Linked DNA regions of Homo sapiens: regions 1 and 2 are each linked to region 3. The links are contacts of gene promoters, found by promoter capture Hi-C in human tissues and cell types (Jung and others, 2019). All regions are on one chromosome and are shown on one strand. Each heading gives the region's core, a stretch centred on a gene start or on the middle of the fragment in contact. The rest is flanking DNA. Distances are from core to core; before and after follow the strand shown.

Region 1 (4,286 bases), core at 993-3,492, 110 kb before region 3:
GTTTCCTTCTTGCACTTGATTGTAAGCTCCATGAAGGTAGGGAACACACTGGTCTCACTCAGCTGTTGTATGCCAAGTGCCTTGCATTTGCCTAGTACATACTAGGCACCAGCCAACATTGGATGGGTGAATGGATGGTTAGATGAATGGATTGAACTAGTTAATTTCATTTCCTTTCCCTTAACTCCAGCCAATAATCTCTTCTTAGGGAATTGTAATTATCTGTTTATATGGTTCTCTTGAGCCTCTTTGAAGAAGAACCTGTCTTTAGAAGCCCTGAGTCTAGCTCCATGCCTGACTTACAATAGATGGCTAATAAAAGTTGGCCATATGTTGTCTAAGACAAACTCTTGCCCATAAGACAAGCAGTTCCAAGAGCTCACGCCTCTGCAGAGAGGACCCTAGAAAGTTGTTTTCATACATAGAGGGTTAGGATGGTGAATTTATTCACAGAAACGGAATGAAGTGCATTCCTGCTTCCCACCCGTGCCATGCTTAGCTCCTTGGTAAGGTCTGCTATTCAGGTTGCCAGTTACTGTACTGACTTATTTGTACATAAACAGTTATTCCCCATAACCTTCCCTTTGCCAACATTCAGAGATAATGATACACAATCTTTGTAACATTACAGATGTTGCTTCAAAAACACTCTGTTGCTATAGGAATGTTTGTGATGTGCTTATCGCTAGAATTTCATGAGCAACAAACTCCAAAATTGCAGATGATTTAACATTTGAAGCAGGGAGTTGAGAGTGTATGTGTGTTTGCATTTAAAAAAACAAAACAAACAAGGCTTTGAAAAAGGAAGTTTTCTTCTGCAGAGTTATCTTCTTCTAAAGCTTAAAATAAGAACTACTTAAAAGCAGCGAATTTAGAAGAATGAGCACTTTCTCTTAAACATTCAAATGGGTGAAAATGACTTGTAATGCCTCCCTCAAGTATTAAGGAAATAGGCAGTTAAAGGTTTTTTTTGGAGCTAGCTGTCACAGACAAAGGATTTCTCATTTAAAAAAAAATCATTTTATAGCATTAAATAGTAGGAATGCATACCAGCAGCCCTTTTGGCATCTTGAAAATGATTTATTTTCTGAAATGTCCCAGTGCATTTTAATAGATGACTCTTTGTTCTTCTCATTCAGGGAGGGAGCTTCAGGCGGGGTTGCCATAGTTAGGGTTGGGAAGTTCAGGGTGGAGGCAGACAGGGCTCCAGGAACAGCTTTCCATGAGCCTCACACTTTGTTACCTGAACACAGCAGGTGGGTGCCACCACCTATCTCCAAACAGCATGGAGCCACACTTTCCCAAAGCTCCTGCTGTGGTTCTCCTTCCCAAAGAGAGACTCTCTGAACTAACTTTTTATAGTCCAGAGAGTGAATTTGAAATCATTTTTCTTTCTAGCCTCCCTCTCTGAACATATCAGCTAGACATCTTAGGAAAGGTGTGCAATGTGGAAGTCTCTACTATAGCAATGCTGCTACTCAGCTGTGGCTCAGGAGTGGTGCTCTCTGCAAACTCTTTAGCGGTCCATGAGATAAGTTCAGAAATTGAGTCGGTGCTTAGTAACTTTCATGCCGATTTGACAGAATAATCTGTTGAATCAAAGAACTTAAAAGTGAGCTTGCACTTTGTATCAGTATCTTTTCATTTCCTTTTTCTAGCAGTTCATTTTTACTATATTTTATTAAAGTAGTCATCTCTAATGGTGTGGAAAATTTTTTAAAAACTGGTCCTTCGGCTGGGCACGGTGGCCCACGCCTGTAGTCCCAGCACTTTGGGAGGCCGAGGCGGGCAGATCATGAGGTCAGGAGTGCAAGACCAGCCTGGCCAACATGGTGAAACCCCGTCTCTACTAAAAATACAAAAATTAGCCAGGTGTGGTGGTGGGCACCTATAATCCCAGCTACTTGGGAGGCTGAGGCAGGAGAATTGCTTGAACCTGGGAGGCAGAAGTTGCAGTGAGCCAAGATCACACCATTGCACTCCAGCCTGGGCAACAGAGTGAGACTCTGTCTCAGAAAAAAACAAAACAAAACAAAACAAAACAAAACAACTGGTTCTTCATGACAAATAACTTGAGAAGCTGTATGCCAAGGCACCTGTAAGCTGCTGTAGCTCCCCCATGAGGAAAGTCAGCTGTTGAATGGATTTGGGGAATCACAGCACTTAGCAAATGATATTATAATGAAACTCAGATCTCTCTCTGTCTCTCTATATCTCTCTGTGTCTGTCTGTCTGTCTGTCTGTCTCTCTCTCTCTCTCTGTTTCCTAAGTGTAGAGACTGCATCCAGTTCATCTCCATGGCCTCATTCCTCAGTGCCCTGCCTGGCACATTGCAGGCCTTTGGAAATGTTTGTTGAATGCATGCCTGTCTGCTTCCTCATTACCTAAGAGTAGGTGAGGACAGCCTCGGGAATTTCCCTGGGATTTCTGGTAGTGTCTTCTGCAGGATGGTGATGAAGAGCTAGGAGCAAATGATGAGGAAATGACCTTTCCTTTTTCTTTTCCCCACAGGACCAGGCCTCCTCTTCCCACCTGTCCAGCAGCATGAAAGCAGCATGATTGGCCGACCGCAGGAGAAGCCCCCAGAACCAGGCCCCCAACTCAGCCATCTGCGGAGGTCAAGGTGAGCTTGCTTTCCTTCTTCTGGAAGGCTGAGGAATTTTCATTTTCATTTTAACACTTTCTGTATGCATTTGTAATCCCTTGCTATGTGCTAGAAGAATGAGGTTTCCTGGGATGAGGGTAGACTTAGAAAGTGCATGTCACTTTACAGATTAAAGTGTGCTCATTTTGGTTAAAGGAGAGGCTGATATGGAGCAGAAAGGACTGAGTTGAGTGTCTAGAATGGAGCTCTTATTATTCTTCCACCACCTCCTGAATCTGGGACCTTGGACAGGTCTTACAGGATGGGGTATCCAGGGAATTTTGAATGAAAAAATCTCTGAGACAGGATAGAATGGGAAAGATTACTCAGTCCACGACCTGAGAGTCCCAGTACCTGCTAGACAGACTTCTGTCCCACACAGAGTCATAAGGGGCCTTAGATGATCAGTCAGGCCAGTTTCCAGCCAGTGTTGGACAGTTAGTTGTTAGTTCTGTCTGCTGGTCTCTGCTCTGCCATTAGGAACCACAAAGACTTGGCTTTCAAAGACTCTTCCACATGCCTCTCTCACTGGGTTTGAAGATTTGAAGATTTGGCTGTCATGACTCCGTCTTTCTTTTTTTGGTATAAATTCTCCCTAGAGACTGGTGCCAGTCACCTTGTCCTCTCGTCCCCTCTGTGTTGGAAAGGGCTTTAGTTACCTCCAGCGTCTGCCTTGCTGGTTGCTCATGCAACCTGCACCATCTTCAGTAGAGAATCATTCATTCACCATTCGTTCTTCAGTGGCTATTTACAGCCTCCTTTGTGACAGGCACTGTGCTAGACTCTGGAGATATATCAATGAAGAAGAAAGACAGGGTCTCTGTCTTTTAAGACAAAATAGGTTTAGATCCTTAGAGTTTGAAATATGCATTGAACTACTTCCGTGGGCTCCTTTTTTACATTTTTATCTCTGCAACTTTTTTTCTTAAATGTCCCATAAGTGCTTCAAAAAACATCTTTAAATATTGGATATAGTTTTCTATATATCATCATTGAAAGATAAGTTAGCTTATTGTGCAGCTCAAATCATCTATAATATGTTCTTTTCTGATTTTGTCTGATTATCTATCAATTATTGAGAGAGGTGTGTTAAAGCCTCCCACTGGATTTGTCAGTTGCTCCTTGCAATGCTGAAATTGTTGCTTTATATGTTTTGAGGCAATACTGTTTGGTGCATAGATGTTTAGAACTGGTGTATTTTATTGATGAATTGGGATTTATTTCTACCATCTTTACATGCATTTAATTTTTTCTGCTCTTTCTTTTAGGTTGAGGTATTTTCCCCCCTCATTTCATTTTCCATCTTCTTATTTGTAACTTGCATACTCTATGTCTGTTATTTCTGGGGTTACCCAGCTAGCTACCTGGATAGATGATAGATAGATAGATAGATAGATAGATAGATAGATAGATAGAAAAAAACAGACTCTATGTGTGTTTTTTCAGGGGTTATCCAGCTAGCTAGATATATATATATATGTAGATAGATAGATAGATAGAGACAGACAGACAGACAGACAGATAGATAGATAGATATTTTTAGAGACAGGGTCTTGCTCTCTTGCCCAGGCTAGCTTCAAACTCCTGGGCTCAAATGATACTCTCACCTCCTCCTCCCGAGGAGCTACCTTAGCTTTTTTTG
Region 2 (4,221 bases), core at 302-2,801, 87 kb before region 3:
TCAAAAACACAGAAAAATATAAAAAGTTATAAAATGAAAAATCTCCCTCCTGCTCTTTTCCCCAATTAGCCCAGTTTCTACCACCTCCCTGCAGACAACTATTATTAGTTTCTTGGATCCTTCCAGATTTTCTTTATGAATATATATCAATTATAAATACATAGTTGACCCTTATTATTCACAGATTCCATATTTGCAAATTCCCTACTCTCTAAACTTATTTGTAACCACAAAACCGATGCTCAGTGCTTTCTTGGTCATTTGAGGACAGGCACAGAGCAGTGAAAATTTTGAGTCGCCCGATGCATGTTCCCAAGCTGAGGTTAAACAAGGCAACTCCACCTTCTTATTTCAGCTCTCCTGCTGGACACAAGTGTGCTTTTTTGGTGTATTTAGTATGGCATTTTTCATATTTTTGTTGTTTTTGTTGTTGATTTCACTGTTTGAAATGGCCTCCAAGTGTAATGCTAAAGTGTTGCCTACTGTTCTCAGCACGAGAAGGCTGTGATGTATGTGCCTTACAGAGAAAATGGGTGAATTAGATAAGCTCCTTTCAGGCATTAGTTGTAGTACTGTTGGCTGTGAGGTCAATGTTAATGAATGAAAAAAATAGATGTTAAATAAGATATCCTTTAAGCAGACACATATAAAACAAGGTTATATACTGATCAGTTGACAAAAATGTTGCAACCAGGGGCTTGCAGGAACCTAACCCTGTATTTCTCTTAGGAGCAGTGGCTCAGTATTCACTAATTCAGTGATCATAGAGACTTTATAGGATGTAACTACCACAACTAACAAAAATCAACTATCTATATACCTACATATGTATATATTCTATTTTAACCATTTTTTACACAAAAGAGAGCATACTGAACATACTGTTCTGCATCTTTCTTTTTCACTTAACCTTGGACGTCTTTCCATTTCATTTCATAGAGAGTTTCATTGTTGTTCTTTTGGATTTTTTGTTTTGTTTTGGTTCGGTTTGTTTGTTTGTTTGTTTGGGACAGGGTCTCACTCTGTCACCCAGGCTGGAATGCAATGGCGCCATCATGGCTCACTGCAGCCTTAACCTTCTGGGCTCAATTGATGCTCCCACCTCAGCTTCCCAAGTAGCTGGGACTACAAGTGTGCACCACCACACCTGGCTGATTTTTGTATTTTTTGTAGAGACAGGGTTTCCCCATGTTGCCCAGACTGGTCTCTAACTCCTTGGCTGAAACAATCCTCCTGCCTCATCCTCCCAAAGTGCTGGGATTACAGGCATGAGCCACTGTGCCCAGTCTCCTTGTTAGTTTTAACAACTGCATAGTATCCCATCCTGCGGTTATTCCATGATTTCCTTCAATCAATCCCTTATGGTTAGGCATTTGGGTTGTTTTCAGTCTTTGGCTTTTCTAGCAATACTGCAGCATACACACTTGTCTACATGTCATTTTCTATGAGTCTCTGCTTTAACCAACTCCCTAGAAAGGGAATTCTGAGGGCAGTAGTTCAGCCTGGCCAAACTGACACATAAAAAGCATCACACCTTCCTCTACTCCTGGGTATGTATCCTAAAGAAATTCTCACAGATGTTCCTAAGGGGATGCATCTGAGAATGTTCATTGCAAGGTGTCATTGGGAGGTTGGTAAGGTAGTTAAAGGTGATGGATGCACTTACCACCATGTGGGGTTATTGGGAGGGGCTTCTGAGGGACTTGGCACTGTGCCTAGCCTGGGGTTAGCGCCCAATGCACGTTAGCCATCGTTGCTGTTCTTCCTTCCTGTTTGCGTAGCAGCATCTTAATCCAGCTCATCGATGCCACGCTGGGTGTCCCTCCTACAGCCACCCCTCTGTGACCCGCCTCCACACAGGGCTGGAGGATCCTGGCAGAGTCTGGGCACTCTTAAGCAGGCATCCTGGATGTAATTCTGGACCACCTCAGCTGGTCTGGAGAAGGGGATTGGCTCCTTCACTTTCTAATAGTTTACCATGCACACAGGGTTGATATTTGACAAACTTGTTTGCTGTGTTCCATAAACATTGAGTGAATCTGCTTTGGCCAAACACTGCTCGTGGCACAGTGGAGAGAGAGGGAGAGATTTTAAAAAACAGAGCTATTAAACACAATTCTGTTTCTATGGAACTGGATATCTAGTATTGTTTGAAAAATGAAATACCTGAGGTGACTGAGCTTGGTGGGGTAATGTTTCCAACAAACAGAAGTATGCGTGTCTGGGCCTGTAAAACCTTTAGCTAGGATTTGGTCCTCACACTCTCCCTGCAGCCCAGGCTCCGGGGCCGCATTTCTGTCTTCTTGGTTCAGCTGCAGGGGTCCCCTAGCAGCAAAGGGAAGTTGTTTTGGCAAGAAATTGGGACTGTGAGATAATGGGGGCCAGTGACCAACAGGATATCTGCCTTGAGCAAGTCCAGACAGGTTTGGGGGCTTCCCAGGGGAGCATGAAGATTGCCAGAGGAGGAGCAAACCCAGAAAGGGCAGGACCCCTCTTTATCCCCTGAGGCCTCTCAGTAACCAGAAGCCAACCTTCATCATCCCTCCCACCGTCCACATACAAAGCACCAGACAGTGGGAATCTCAGGTGAGGGGGAATTTCACTTCCAACTTTATTCCATAACACTGAATTCTTAGAAGCATTTATGAATTAAAACATACTGTTTTTCTTCATCGTGGCATGCTGTGATTTGGAACAAGTTTGGAACCAGGTCCTCCTGACAGACTTTCTCTGCAGCTCCCATGGACTTGCCTCTCAAGGACATCTTCCTAATTGGCTTCCAGGCCTCCTCCCTCACTCCTTCCTTTCCCCGCCCTCAGCAGCCTCCTAAGGGCCCCGAGAGCCTACACAGGGTGCCATGAGGGTGAGGCTCCCCCTGGACCCTTGAATGAGGAGCCTCACTCATCTGCCTGGGAAGGCTGGCCTCCCATAGCACCATGAAGAACAGGGGAGATGTCGTCAGGCACGGCCAAGTGGCTGGGCTGAACCCCGAGGGCTGCAGGGCATAGAGGCTTCTTCCTGGCTGCCCTGGGTCAGTGCCTCCTGAGCACTCACTCACACTGTCAGGGGAGGCATGAGCTGAGTCCCGGAGACGAGCAAGTGAGCAAGCGAGCCAGGGCTCCCCCTGCCCTCCCTCAGAGCACGAACTTGCTGGGAGATGGGTACCTGAGTGAGGCTCACCATCCCCCAGGGCTTCTAGAAGGAGGCCAGAACCGGATCCTCGGAGGCCTGGAGGAGGGAGCGACTCAGGAAGTCCTGCTGGAAGGCCTCCAGCCCTAGTTGCCAGAGGTCCCCTCGGGTTTGTTTGTTGACTCCCAGAATTCCCCAAAAGACCTTAGAAGTCTGAGCAAAAGGGACTGTGGCTTGTCCGAGCCCCCTTATCTTAAAAGCGAAAAGCTTGGGACCGTGGCATTGCCCAGTATGTAGCTCGGTGTCGCCGCCGGTATTTACAGAATGCTCCCCGTGGCACCGACGTCATAACCTGGGATACCCTGGGCTTCTACACAGGCTTTTTGTCTGAAACGCAGGCAGGAGACCCAGAGGGGACCCACGACAACCCAAACACAAGAACACTATTGCACGGTTATTTTACATACTGACTTTGTACATCACTGACTTTGTTACTGTGTGAGCTGTTTTCCAGAAAAAAAGGGGAGTGGTTGTCCCTTAAGATGATCGCTTCTTCTCTGGGGCCCTGGGTGACCCTTTGGTTTTTTATACAGCTTGATGTCTTGGAAGGCCACACACCAAAGTCACACAGCTGATCTGCTCGGGAGTATAGCTCACACACACACAGGCCTGGAGAGTCTGTGGGTCTGGTGCCATCTCAATGTGCATGGCCAGGATGTGGTGACAGCGCCAGCCACCACCCTCCCTGTCGTCCCTTGCAGAGGAAGTTGGTCTGTGCTGCCCACCTGCCGGAGGCTGTTCTGGCCGCTTGGCCCCATGACGCTAGGTGTGGAGCTTGAGTGATAGCAACAGAGCCTGCAGGTGCTTGACTTGTGCTTTCTTCTATTAATAATTCACTCTGAGGCTGTAGGTGGGGCCAAGGGGGTCAGATCTCCCTGCCAGCCCACTTCCCCTCTATCTTTATTCCCACTTTCGCTGGGGCCTCATCAGAGCAGCCGGAGGGAAATCTCCTCCCATTCTCCCAGCCCTGCCCTGCCCTGCCCAGGACAGCTGCAGGGCCAGGGATCCTTTGTTTGGCTGAAGTCCCAGGTG
Region 3 (3,939 bases), core at 654-3,153:
TTTTTGGGGAGAAAAAAGTAAAAGGCCATTTGGAGGCAAGAGTTAGAAGCGAGGAGGACACTAGCCCTGTTATCTAGACCTTGAGGTGTGTGTGGGGGAGAAAAACCCACCACCACTTGAAAGGATGACAGAAGAAATCACATTTCTCCTTCAGGAATAGCAAGAAAGTTAAAAGAGCTTTCAGAGCTCAGTGACGTCTGGAGGCAGAGAACAGTGAGAGAGGAGGTCAGGCCTGGAGATGTGCAAAACAATTCAGGCTGAACACCCAGTGAGGGATGGGTAGGTTAAGGATAGATTCACTGGAACTGCTGCCTCTGAAGTCTTCTAGAAAAATGAGTGTCACTGGGCGTGGTGGCTCATGCCTATAATCCCAGCACTTTGGGAGACCAAGGCGGGTGGATCACTTGAGGTCAGGAGTTTGAAACCAGCCTGGCCAACATGATGAAACCCCATCTCTACTAAAAATACAAAAATTAGCTGGCTGCTGGGTGCATCAAACCAACATGGCACATGTATACCTATGTAACAAACCTGTATGTTGTGCACATGTACCCTAGAACTTAAAGTATAATAAAAAAAAAAAAAAGAAGAAAAAATAGCTGGGTGTTGTGGTGTGCACCTGTAATCCCAGCTGCTCGGGAGGCTGAGGCATGAGAATCACTTGAACCCGGAGGCGGAAGTTGCAGTGAGCCGAGATCACACCACTGCACTCCAGCCTGGGCGACAGAGCGAGACCCTGTCTCAAAAAATAGAAATTTAAAAAAAAAAAGCAAAGAAAAAGAAAAATGTGTGTCCCTGGTCTTTTGATTTCTTGGAGGTGTCATTTTTATGTTACATTAAAATAAGCATGAATATGTAATTGTTCAAAAGCAAATTTTACATGACCTATAATGTAAAAGTAAGAGCCTTCAAAGATATTTTAGGCCATGCTCCCAGATCCTTCTCACATGTTAGTATTTTGGAGGAAATGTGAAAAAGGCACTACCCCTAGGTCTTGTGTGAAGGGTTGGAGGGAGGCATTTGTAGTTTAAATCAGAAAGTGAAAAGCTCCCAAGATGAAAGGTGTAATCTGGAAAGGAGCTTCAGGGACCGAGTTAGCCTGGGAAGAGAGTTGCTCACCTAGAGCCCTTCCCATCATAGATTCTGCCTCTTTTCACTAGACCGTCTGAGGGGCGAGTCCCAGATCACCAGCAGATTCTGTTTTATGGCCTAGGACTTGATCTCACTTCCTCTCTGGATTTGAGTCTCCTGTCTCCAAGATGGGCCTCCCTGAAGCAATGTGAGGCCCAGCTAAAGAGATAGGGAGTGAGTGAGATGGGAGGATCCCAGCCTAGCACCCCGACTCTTTCTTCACTCTGCATCTCTCTGCTTACCTCTCAGTTTCTTCCCCTTCTACCTCTTCAGAGTCTACCAGGGCCAGCTTGGTTGCTTTGTTGACAAGGCTAAGGGAAGGAGTGAGGCTGGAGGAGTTTAGGCTGGAGGTCAGAACTTCCTGGGGAATCTCTTTTTTTTTTTTTTTTTTTTTTTTTGAGACAGAGTCTCACTCTGTCCCCCAGGCTGGAGTGCAGTGGTGTGATCGCAGCTCACTGCAACCTCTATCTCCCAGGTTCAAGTGATTCTCCTGCCTCAGCCTCCTGAATAGCTGGGATTACAGGTACCCACCACCATGCCCAGCTAATTTTTTGTATTTTTAGTAGAGACAGGATTTCACCATGTTGGCCAGGCTGGTCTCGAACTCCTGACCTTGTGATCCACCCACCTCGGCCTCCCAAAGTGCTGGGATTACAGGCATGAGCCACCGCACCCGGCCACCTGGGGAATCTTCTAATAGTCTTAGGGCAGCTTAGCTGGCCTGGACCCACCTCCCTTGCCACCTGCCCCCTGCACCGACTGATCATGTTCAGTCACCCAGGAGATGATGGAGAGGCTGATCAGGCCTCCTGGAAAGGGAGGAAGAGGGCCCTAGTTGGAGAGATCCATCAGCAGAAGCCAGGGAGGAGATACAGACCCTTGCTCCCTGATGCTCCTCAGGGCTAGCATGGGGCAGGAGTTTAGCTGGGAGGAGGCGGAGGCAGCTGGCGAGATAGATGTGGCGGAGCTCCAGGAGTGGTACAAGAAGTTTGTGATGGAGTGCCCCAGCGGCACACTCTTTATGCATGAGTTTAAGCGCTTCTTCAAGGTCACAGACGATGAGGAGGCCTCCCAGTATGTAGAGGGCATGTTCCGAGCCTTCGACAAGAATGGGGTAAGGCACCCTGAAGGGAAGGACCAGTGGCCAGTCCACCTGGCGCCTTCCTCCACAAGTGTCCTCAGGGAGAGCTCCCAGTTCCCCACTCCTCGGCTCTTTCTCTGCTCTTCTTTCCACTCCGTCTCTCTTTACCTTTTCTGTCTCACTCACCAAACCCTTCTGTCTCTTCTCTTCCTTTTGTCCCTTTCCATCTTCTCTGTCTCTCCTTCCCTCCCTCCATCTCTTAGCTGTCGGCTGATGCTCCCTGTGTCCTCTTCTTGAGAGCTGAAGGGCGACTGGCAGACAGTCCAGGTCCTCTCTTTGTGTATTTTTGACCAAGACTCTGCAGCCCAATGACCGGGTTTTCGCATCTGCCAGAGCCCCTGTCACTCTAAACACTAGGAGCAAAAGAGATGTTCTAAATGAGACAAGGTATCTTAGCATGGGCTATGAGCTCCCTCTTGTTGGGGTTCTTCTGAGACTGGTCAGATCCTCCCTGTCAAGAATGCTGGAAGAGGCTCCTGCATGTATTGGGAGACTGGGCGAATGACTGCAAAAGCCCCTTTCAGCTCTTCAAGTCCTGGAAGGTTTCATTAAATCATTCAGACTAGAGTTTCTCTAAGCCCACAATGTCACTAGCAGCTAAGAAGATAACACATCTTGTAAATGCACCAGGGGATTGAATTTTAAATTTCAATTCAGTTAAAAACCCCTTGATTATTTAAGGTTATCCAGTTCAGTGCCCTGGCAATCCTCAAATACCTCAAATACCTCAAATGCCCTGGTATTTGCCTCAAATACCAATTTAATCTGAAGAAAGTGTCAGTTCTCCATTCCTCAGTGCGTGGAGAACTTAGCTTTCTAAGCTGAATCACTGGGAATGCCACTTCAGGTCTCATCCTGTCGCTGGTACCAGTCAGTGCACGTCCCCACAGTGCCTGTCCCGGGACAGGAGGGTGAGGTCAGCACCTTCAATTCAACAGAACCTCCTTAGAGATGAACCCCATCGACCACCCCACAGGGCACAGAGCCAGTTTCGGACTTCTCAGCGCTCCGCCTCTCTTAGGTCTCCTCTGAATCAGCAGCAACCCTGGGTGGGAGGGGCAGACTTTTGTTATTCCAAATTAAATGATGAGAAAGCTGGGCAAAAGGGAATGAATCGATTTGCCCAAGGTCTTAAGTGCTCCTGCCTAGAAGGCAGGTTTTTTAAAGAGAGAAGATGACTTTTTAAAATAATTGATGTTTTTTTAAAATGTAAGAAAAGTAAACAAATATATCAGGTCATAAATAATAAGACTCATTTAAGTCCATCAATCTTCCCCAGATTCATCTAAAAATCAATACGATCATGATTCAAGATCCAAAGGGCTGATTAAGCCCCTAGGCATATAGTTGTACTCCTTATACCTCATCTCTTCTTATAAATCGGCATATGATGTTCATCAATGTTTTTTCCTTTTTGAATAACTTTTTAATTTTACTATGATTCTAAATTTACAGAAGAGTTATAAGAATGATACAAGTAACTCCCATATGCAATTTATCCAAATTTCCCCAGTTATTCACATTTTATATCATTTACTTTATCATTCTGCCTCTCTCTGTATACATACATATATATAATGTATCCTATAAGTATATATACATATACATGATACATAATTTATACATATACTTTTTTTAAGAGAAAGCTATAGATATCATGCCCGTTT

The links. The method cuts DNA at HindIII sites, captures the fragments that hold promoters and counts their contacts. A contact is called where the count stands out against the background at its distance.
Region 1: a fragment that was not itself captured here is called in contact with the fragment with the promoter of GUCA1B in region 3 in 3 of the 25 tissues and cell types used here (adrenal gland, bladder and liver).
Region 2: a fragment that was not itself captured here is called in contact with the fragment with the promoter of GUCA1B in region 3 in 2 of the 25 tissues and cell types used here (liver and spleen).

Annotation. Positions count from the first base shown.
Region 1 is chr6:42,298,975-42,303,260 of GRCh38, reverse strand. It overlaps TRERF1 (transcriptional regulating factor 1), which reads left to right. Exons shown (of 18, transcript NM_001395490.1): 4 at 2,512-2,623. Among named protein-coding and RNA genes, the nearest start is that of MRPS10, 83 kb to the right of the region's middle. The HindIII fragment of the contact is 6,848 bases long and covers 1-4,286 here.
Region 2 is chr6:42,279,333-42,283,553 of GRCh38, reverse strand. All of the region lies in intron 4 of TRERF1 (transcriptional regulating factor 1), which reads left to right. Among named protein-coding and RNA genes, the nearest start is that of MRPS10, 64 kb to the right of the region's middle. RefSeq lists an enhancer at 3,615-4,127. The HindIII fragment of the contact is 8,920 bases long and covers 1-4,221 here.
Region 3 is chr6:42,192,920-42,196,858 of GRCh38, reverse strand. GUCA1B (guanylate cyclase activator 1B) reads left to right here and starts at 1,903. Exons shown (of 4, transcript NM_002098.6): 1 at 1,903-2,245. The coding sequence starts at 2,039. The HindIII fragment of the contact is 9,949 bases long and covers 1-3,939 here.